Regions from separate parts of the Homo sapiens genome. Here region 1 is linked to region 2. The links are contacts of gene promoters, found by promoter capture Hi-C in blood cells and fetal thymus (Javierre and others, 2016). All regions are on one chromosome and are shown on one strand. Each heading gives the region's core, a stretch centred on a gene start or on the middle of the fragment in contact. The rest is flanking DNA. Distances are from core to core; before and after follow the strand shown. Region 1 has its middle 240 kb from the start of CXCR4. Region 2 holds the start of MCM6 (minichromosome maintenance complex component 6).

Region 1 (4,171 bases), core at 26-2,525, 480 kb before region 2:
GAGGGATCTAGGTTGTGCTTTCCTCATGAGAATCTAAGGCCTGCTGATCTGTCATTGTCTCCCATTACCCCTAGACAGGACCATCTAGTTGCAGGAAAACAAGCTTAGGGCTCCCACTGATTCTACCTGATGGTGAGTTGTATAATTATTTCATTTACACAGGCCAGGCGCAGTGGCTCACGCCTGCAATCCCAGCACTTTGGGAGGCCACGGCAGGCAGATCACTTGAGGTCAGGAGTTTGAGACCAGCCTGGCCAATGGGGTGAAACCCCGTCTCTACTAAAAATACAAAAATTCACTGGGCATAGTGGTGCATGCCTGTGGTCCCAGCTATGTGGGAGTCTGAAGTGGAAGAATTGCTTGAACCTGGGAAGCAGAGGTTGCAGTGAGTGGAGGTTGGTGCAATCTCGAGATTGGCTGCACTCCAGCCTGGGTGACAGAGAGAGACCCTGTCTCAAAAAAAAAGAAAGAAAAGAAAAAAAAAAAGAAAAGAAAAGAAAGCACAATAAATGTAATGCCCTTGAATCATCCTGAAACCATCCCCCCTCCCTGGGTCCATGGAAAAATTTTCTTCCATGAAACTGGTCCCTGGTGCCAAAAAGGTTAGGGACCACTAGTTTAGAGACCTGGGGCACCCACCTAGCAATCCCAATTTTTAAAAATAACATTCTGTGATATGAACAATTACCATCTCCTCACCTACTTAAAATGTGACTAAATGTCTTAAGAAATATTTCTTTATCAATTGGTAATATATAATCTAACCAATTTATTTTAAAAGCTTTAGACAGGTTCCTACTCTCTCACCCTCTTATAACTCAAAAATTACCATTCCTACATGTTCCTAGGTATAAATTCTAGAGCCTGCCAGAATTCTTACACTAGAAATAACTTTGAATATCAGCTGAAATTTGCTGCAAACATTCATGTTTGCATGCCAAGGTCACTAGTCAACCGATCTTAGATTTTCATATAAAAGACCCTCAAAGCGAACTCAGCAGATATCTCTACCAGCACAAAGCACTGGAAACACAACTTGCAAGAGTAAAGAGTTTAAAACCAAGGTTTAAAATAAAAAATGTATTCAACTTTACAGTAACAGCACCTAGGGCACATTACACCTGTATACATCACTCTCCACAGTATATCAGGAGGAGGTGGAGTTATAATAGCCTTACATGGTCTGAGGAAGAAACCTCAGCTATTTCACAATTTGCTGAGGCCCACCTGGGCAGAAACCACACTGATGTTTAAAAAAAAAAAATGGTGCATTATGCAAACCAAGATGGAAAAGATGAATCAAAGTAGGCTTTATTTGTAGGGCTGTTTGGGATATAATATTTCCTTCATAACTGAAAAATAGTCATGCTGCATGTCGGGGAGGAGTTACCAACAAAGCCAGCCTGATACCTCATACTTTCCATAAGGTACACATTCAAGCACAGAGCTTGATTCGTGGCTGTGAGGGTTATTTTCTCAGCTAGTCCATGCTCGCCTTTCTCACTCCACCTCTTAGCACTTGTCCAAAAGTCCTCAGCTTGCATTCTATGTGTTGGGTTGCTTATAGGTCCGGCACATATAAAGCTGATAGGCCCATTGCTAGGAATGCTTTTTCAGCTGTGCAAAGCTCTGTTGAGACCCACCAAGGCACTGCAGCCTTGGGCTGTTGGACTTGCTACTTGACTTTCAAAGCCATTCCCTCCCTTCCCAGGGAAGTTGCTTGTATACTTCACCCACCTCTGTCTGCAGAGCAAGCCTGGCAAGCTTCCCACCATCACTTTAAGGCCTTCAACCTTCAGCTCCTGCTCCACTTTTCCAGAATGGGTTGGAGCCCCTTGTCTGTGTTCCCTTTGTGCCCTACTTCTACCTTCTGTTGTCAACACTTGACAGAATCATATTGAGACTATACATTTGTATGTTGAATTTCAGCCCCATTTTATTTACCTCCTATCTTGGCTCCAACGTGTAAAACTATGACTAGTTTTGAATAGGTTCTCAATCATGTGTAGGTGAAGCCAATTTATGTCATTGTTGAAGCTCTCTGCCATCAAAGAAAAGTTTAGAAAGTAAAGTGAGGCCTGCAAGGGCCTGGGCAAACCCCAGCCAGACTGCCCACTGGGTGGGAACCCCCTCCCCCGAGGCCCACTGCTGCCATCCTCCACTCATGGTGAGCCATTGAGTTCTATCATAATAGCTGGTGGGGGAAGCCTGGCTTCATTGCAGCCTCACTTCCTGCTCTGCCTTTGCTCCTTTCTCAATGTTGAGAAAGGATGCCTGTTCTGATGGGAACATGCATCAGATTGGGAGTTACAGAGATTTGCTGTCCAGAGACTGACAGACAATGATGCTAAACAGGTCACAGCTCCTCTCTGCCCTCAGCTTATTCATTCTCAAAATGAGAGGACTGCCACTTCACACCCACTAAGATGGCTACAATAAAAAGACAGACAATAATAAGCATTGAGAGGATGTGGACGACGAACCCCCATATACTGCTGGTGAGAATGGAAAATGGTGCAGCCCCTTTGGAAAATAGTGGCAGTTTCTCAAAAAGTTAAACCTAGAGTCACCACAGGACCCAGAAATTCCACCCCTAGGTATATATCCAAGAAAAATGAAAAACGTCCAGATAGAAACTTCTGCACAAATGTTCATGGCAGCATTCCTTCTACTAGCCAAAAAGTGGAAACAATCCAATGTCCATCACCAGATGAATGGATAAACAAAATGTGGTAGGTCCTTACCATGGAATATCGTTTAGCTCAAAAAGGAATAAAGTTCTGAAACATGAATGAAACTTGACAACCTTATGCTCAGTGAAAGGAATGGGGAGTGACTATTTCATGGGGACAAAATCTTTTTTGGAAGTGAGGAAAATGTTTTGGAACTAGAGAGATGATGGCTGAGCAACATTCTGACTGTACTAAATGCCATTAAATTGCATGCTTTAAAATGGTTAGTTTTGGCTGGGCCCCATGGCTCACACCTATAATCCCAGCACTTTGGGAGACCCAGGCAGGTGGATCATTTGAGACAAGGAGTTCGAGACCAGCCTGGCCAACATGGTGAAACCCCATCTCTAGTAAAAAATACAAAAATTAGCCCAGTGTGATGGCACATACCTGTAATCCAAGCTACTTAGGAGGCTGAGGCATGAGAATCACTTGAACCTGGGAGGCTAAGTTTGCAGTTAGCCAAAATAGCACCACTGCACTCCAGCTTGGGGGACAGAGTGAGACTGTCTCAAAAAAAAAAAAAGGTTCAAGTGATTCTCCTGCCTCAGTCTCCTGAGAAGCAGGGACTACAGGCACATGCCACCATGCCCAGCTAATTTTTTATTTTTAGTAGAGATGAGGTTTCACCATGTTGGTTGGCCAGGCTAGTCTCAAACTCCTGACCTCAGGTGATCCGCCCACCTCAGCCTCCCAAAGGGCTGGAATTACAGGTGTGAGCCATAGCACCTGGCCAGGAGTATTTAGTTCTTAAACAAATCACAGCTGCAACAAACTCTGACTGTTGTGCCTTCATCCCTGAGCTTGGTTTTTGATAATAGTTGCTCTGGGCTTTCTAAAGTGGACATGTGGACAGCACCTGCCATGAGGCTCTGCAGATAATCTTGTAGAGGCAATAGCCCCTAAAATAAATTTCATAGATGATAAAGAGGAGCACAAATAGGATCAGAGAAATCTGCAGGCTGTCATGGGAAGCATTTTCTTTCCTTAGCCTGAGACAATTGCTGATCAATTTCACTTGGGAACTGACAGCTGATCACTTTCTGATCTCATTAGCAGTTCCAGGGTTTAAGTATGTTAGTGAGCCCGGGAGAGAAAGCAGATTGAGCTTCAAACAGCAAAGGGATGGGGGAAATGATTCTCACAGATTGGGCTCTTTCTGGAAAGGTTTGTGCAGATAAGTGAGCTCAAGATTTGCTTGAATAAAGGTTGGTAGGGGGTTTGTAAAAGGGTGCCCCTTTGGGAAGCAGGTTAAAGGAGGGAGGAACACCTTTAGACCTGATTACTTAACCAGAGAGGCTCCTTCTAGAACAACACCTGGGGCAACTTGGCTGCGGGAGGTTGACCTTTCCAAGTCTATGCCCAATTACCCAGTTAAACAGAGCCCCAGGCATCTCTCTGGATACATTTTATCATCTTTTGGCCGTGTACACTGTTTC
Region 2 (4,531 bases), core at 1,537-4,036:
AAGGTTGGAGTGCAGTGGTGCGATCTCGGCTCACTGCAACCTCTGCCTCCTGGGTTCAAGCAATTCTCTGCCTCAGCCTCCTGAGTAGCTGGGACTACAGGCACCGACCACCACGCCCGGCTAATTTCTGTATTTTTAGTAGAGATGGGGTTTCACCATATTGGCCAGGCTGGTCTGGAGCTCCTGACCTCAAGTGATCCACCCACCTTGGCCTCCCAAAGTTCTAGGATTACAGGCATGAGCCACCGCGCCCGGCTGAGTGTTCATTTTCGGGTTTTTTTTTTTTTTTTTTTTTTTTTTTTGAGAAGGAGTCTCACTCTGTCGCCCAGGCTGGAGTGCAGTGGCACGATCTCGGCTCACTACAAGCTCCGCCTCCCAAGTTCAGGCCATTCTCCTGCCTCAGCTTTCCGAGTAGCTGGGACTACAGGCGCCCCCCACCATGCCTGGCTAATTTTTTTGTATTTTTAGTAGAGATGGGGTTTCGCCGTGTTAACCAGGATGGTCTTGATCTCCTGACCTCGTGATCCGCTCATCTCGGCCTCCCAAGGTGCTGGGATTACAGGCGTGAGCCACCGTGCCCGGCCGAGTGTTCATTTTCAAATGAGGTAATACATACGATTACAGATACACTGCAACACGCCAGCATTGAGCTTTTTTGTTAAACTCTGTAAATATCTTGTGAATAGTGTATTTGTACGTATGTTAAAATAATTACTTGAGCTTCTGTCCACTCTGTTTGGCATTTTAAAATCTTTTCAGGCCGGGCGCGGTAGCTCACGCCTGTAATCCTAGCACTTTGGGAGGCCGAGGTGGGCGAATTGCCTGAGCTCAGGAGTTTGAGACCAGCCTGGGCAACATGGTGAAACCCCGTCTATACTAACATACAAAAACAAAAAAACAAAAACAAAAAAAATCAGCCGGGCGTGGCGGTGTGCGCCTGTAGTCCCAGCTACTCAGGAGGCTGAGGCAGAAGAATTGCTTGAACCTGGGAGGCAGAGGCTGCAGTGATCCGAGATCCTGCCACTGCACTCCAGCCTAATGACAGAGCGAGACTCTGTCTCCAAAAAAAAAAGAAAGAAAGAAAGAAAGAAAAGAAAGAAAAAAAAGAAAAAGAAAAAATTTTTCAATAAGTTGGATTTGGTGGTGGCAGGAAATCCCAGCTACTCGGGAGGCGGATGCAGGCAGATTGCTGGAGACCAGGTGTTCAAGGTCAGCCTGCACAACATAGTAAGACCTCGTCTCAAAAAAAGAAAAGAAAGAAAAAATATTTTTAATATGCAACAAGCCTCAAAAAATGGAAGTGGTCCCCGTTTCTCTTAATGTCTTGGAGGCCAAAAAAAGGTACTGGTTGGTGAAATACACATATAGATATCATCAGTACCCAGATGTTAATTAACGCCAAGGGAGTGTAAAGGGTCGCCCAAGAGAGCGACTTTACGGGAAAAGAAGGCTCTGGAACCAGAACATTTAAAAGACTCACTGAAGGAGAGGCGCCTACAAAGGATGCTAATCAGGAATGGCCAAAGAGATGGCAGAAAAACCAAGTGAAATGGTTAGGGAAAGATGGGGGAAAAAAACATAAGGATAACTCAAGCCAATAGTGCATTTTAAGAAGGGTATTAAGGCCGGGCGCTGTGGCTCACGGCCGTAATCCCAGCGCTTTGGGAGGTCGAGGCAGACGGATCACCTGAGGTCAGGAGTTTGAGAGCAGCCTGGCCAACATGGCGAAAACCCTGTCTCTACTAAAAATACAAAAATTGGCTGGGCATGGTAGCGGGCGCCTACAATCCCAGCTATTCAGGAGGCTGAGGCAGGAGAATCCCCTGGACCCGGGAGCTGGAGGTTGCAGTGACCCGAGATCGCGCCACTGCTCTCGAGCCTGAGCGACTGGGTGAGACTTCATCTGAAAAAAAAAAGAAAAGAAAAAGAAAAAAAGATTAATCAAAGTGTCAAATATTTCTTTCTTTTTCTTTTTCTTTCTTTTTTTTTTTTTTTTTTTTGAGACGGAGTCACACTGTGTTGCCCAGGCTGGAGTGCAGTGACACGATCTCGGCCCACTGCAACCTCCTCCTCCCAGGTTCAAGCGATTCTCCTGCCTCGGCCACCCGAGTAGCTGGGATTACAGGCGTGCACCACCACGCCCGACTAATTTTTGTATTTTTAGGGGAGATGGGGTTTCTGCATGTTGGCCAGGGTGGTCTCGAACTCCTGACCTCAGGTGATCCACACGCCTCGGCCTCCCAAAGTGCTAGGATTACAGGTTGTGAGCCACCGCGCCCGGCCAATGTCAAATATTTCGCTGATTTTCCTCGGTCAGCACCACCACAATAATTGTGCCACCTTACCCATGCAAGGTTTAGACATCTCTTTGACTCTTTTACAGGGTTTTATACTGTGGTTTCCATTATTTCCTCTAACTAGACAGCAGAAGCGGCTTACTCATTTTTCTCTTCCATAGAGTCTTACTCCGATCGTTCAATTAATATCAGTGGAATGATTTAAAGAACATTTGAAAAACCACTCGGACAAAACCCTCAGATTCGAACTTGTTCCAGCAGCCAAAAATACCCGCGGGCCACGGCTACACTGCGCAGGCGCAAAGGCAGATGGGCTTTCTCCAGAAGGGCTTTGCATTTGGCGCGAAATCCCTTTCCGTGGGCTGGGGCTCTTGGAGAGGCGCCGTTCATTGGTCAGGTTTGGCGCGAAATCTCCAGCTCCTGTGTCACGATTGGTTCCGGCCGTGCAGGTCGGAAGAGGGGGCGGGGCGGAAGCGGCGGCGGCGCGCGCAAAGCTGCAGCGTCTGGAAAAAAGCGACTTGTGGCGGTCGAGCGTGGCGCAGGCGAATCCTCGGCACTAAGCAAATATGGACCTCGCGGCGGCAGCGGAGCCGGGCGCCGGCAGCCAGCACCTGGAGGTCCGCGACGAGGTGGCCGAGAAGTGCCAGAAACTGTTCCTGGACTTCTTGGAGGAGTAAGTCGGCGAGCGCCCCGGGCCTCGCCCGCCTCCGGAGCCTGCGGCGTCTGGGCCAGGCGGTGCCGTGTGGGCGGCGGGTGTTCCGGAACCTGGGGGTCGCGCGTCCGGGAAGCGCCTCCCCGCCCGCCCCCCAACTTTAGGCTCCGAGCCCGGCGGCCGCGAGGAGCCTGGGACAGGCTGGGTTTTTCTGGAGTAAAACCCATCTCGAGCCCTAAGACGCTCGTGCCCAGTGCTCAGCGCTTTGCTTCTGTCACTTGATGCTCACCACCCCGCGAGCCTGGTATTTGCACAGCCCTCGGTGACCGGCGCGGAAACCTGGGCTCGCTGAGTATAGTAACTGGGCCGCTGGGTGCGGCCAGGTCGAGTGGGAGGCCGAAGTGCCATTGAATCTCGTCGGTGCCCTGCTGGGCCACGCAGCCGGGAGCATGGTGCTGGGGGTTCGCAGGGCACGGGCCACCCTCGCCTCTTGTGCTGATGAAAGTTTCTGCGTCAACTGTGGTTTGAAAGCTGCTGGGGGGCGGAGCCCTGCCCTGCAGAGAGTAGCTCACCATATCCCTTCTTCTGGGTCCCTTGCTCCCCTTTCCCTCTGGCCTTCCTTTCCTTTCTCTACTCTTCTTTTTTTCTGTGCCTCTGGGCTCCTAGCTTCATAACCCCAACCTCCTCCCTGGCTTGCCTCACCCACCGGTTATTTTTCCTGGAGCAGATACACCACGGCCTCCAGGATGAAGGGTCAGCAGTTTGGAATGGCTTTTGAAGTTCTTTTTTAGTAAAATATACATAACAAAGTTGACCATTTTAGCCATTTTTAAGTGTAGAGTCCAGTGGCACTAAGTGCATTCACCTCGTTGTGCAGCCGTCACCACTCTCCCATCTCCAAACTTTTTTTTTTTTGAGGCGTAATTTAGCCCTTGTTGCCCAGGCCGGAGTGCAGTGTCACCATCTCAGCTCACCGCAACCTCCGTCTCCCGGGTTCAAGCTATTCTCCTGCCTCAGCCTCCCTACTAGCTGGAATTACAGGCATGCGCCACCACGCCCGGCTAATTTGGTATTTTAGTAGAGATGGGGTTTCTCCATGTTGGTCAGGCTGGTCTTGAACTCCCGACCTCAGGTGATCCCCCCGCCTGGGCTTCCCAAAGTGATTACAGGCGTGAGCCACCGTGTCCGGCTCCAAACTCTTTTCATCTTCCAAACTGACATTCTGTGCCCATTAAACACGAACTCTCCTCCGTTACCCTCTCCCTCAGCCACCGTCACCCACCACTCTGCTTCCTTTCATTATGAGTTTGACCACTCTAGGTACCTCATATAAGTGGAAGCGTGTAGTATTTGTCCTTTTGTGTCTGGCTTGTGTAACATAATGTCTACAAGGTTCCTCTGCGAGGTAGCATGTGTCAGAATTTCCTTACTTTTTAAGGCTAAATAACATTGTCTGTACACATTGAGTATCCCTTTTCTGAAACGCTTGGGACCAGAAGAGTTTGGGATCTTGGATTTTTTTTTCAGATTTGGAATGTTTACATTATACTTAACCAATTGCATCCCTAATTTGAAATGCTCC

Evidence for each region. The method cuts DNA at HindIII sites, captures the fragments that hold promoters and counts their contacts. A CHiCAGO score of 5 or more calls a contact.
Region 1: a fragment that was not itself captured here is called in contact with the fragment with the promoter of MCM6 in region 2 in 1 of 17 cell types (neutrophils); the score reaches 6.8 in neutrophils.

Annotation. Positions count from the first base shown.
Region 1 is chr2:136,356,766-136,360,936 of GRCh38, reverse strand. No RefSeq gene overlaps it. Among named protein-coding and RNA genes, the nearest start is that of CXCR4, 240 kb to the right of the region's middle. The HindIII fragment of the contact is 983 bases long and covers 784-1,766 here.
Region 2 is chr2:135,874,698-135,879,228 of GRCh38, reverse strand. It overlaps MCM6 (minichromosome maintenance complex component 6), which reads left to right and starts at 2,786. Exons shown (of 17, transcript NM_005915.6): 1 at 2,786-2,970. The coding sequence starts at 2,864. RefSeq lists enhancers at 2,512-2,571, 3,262-3,391, 3,161-3,696 and a silencer at 3,032-3,191. The HindIII fragment of the contact is 12,304 bases long and covers 1-4,531 here.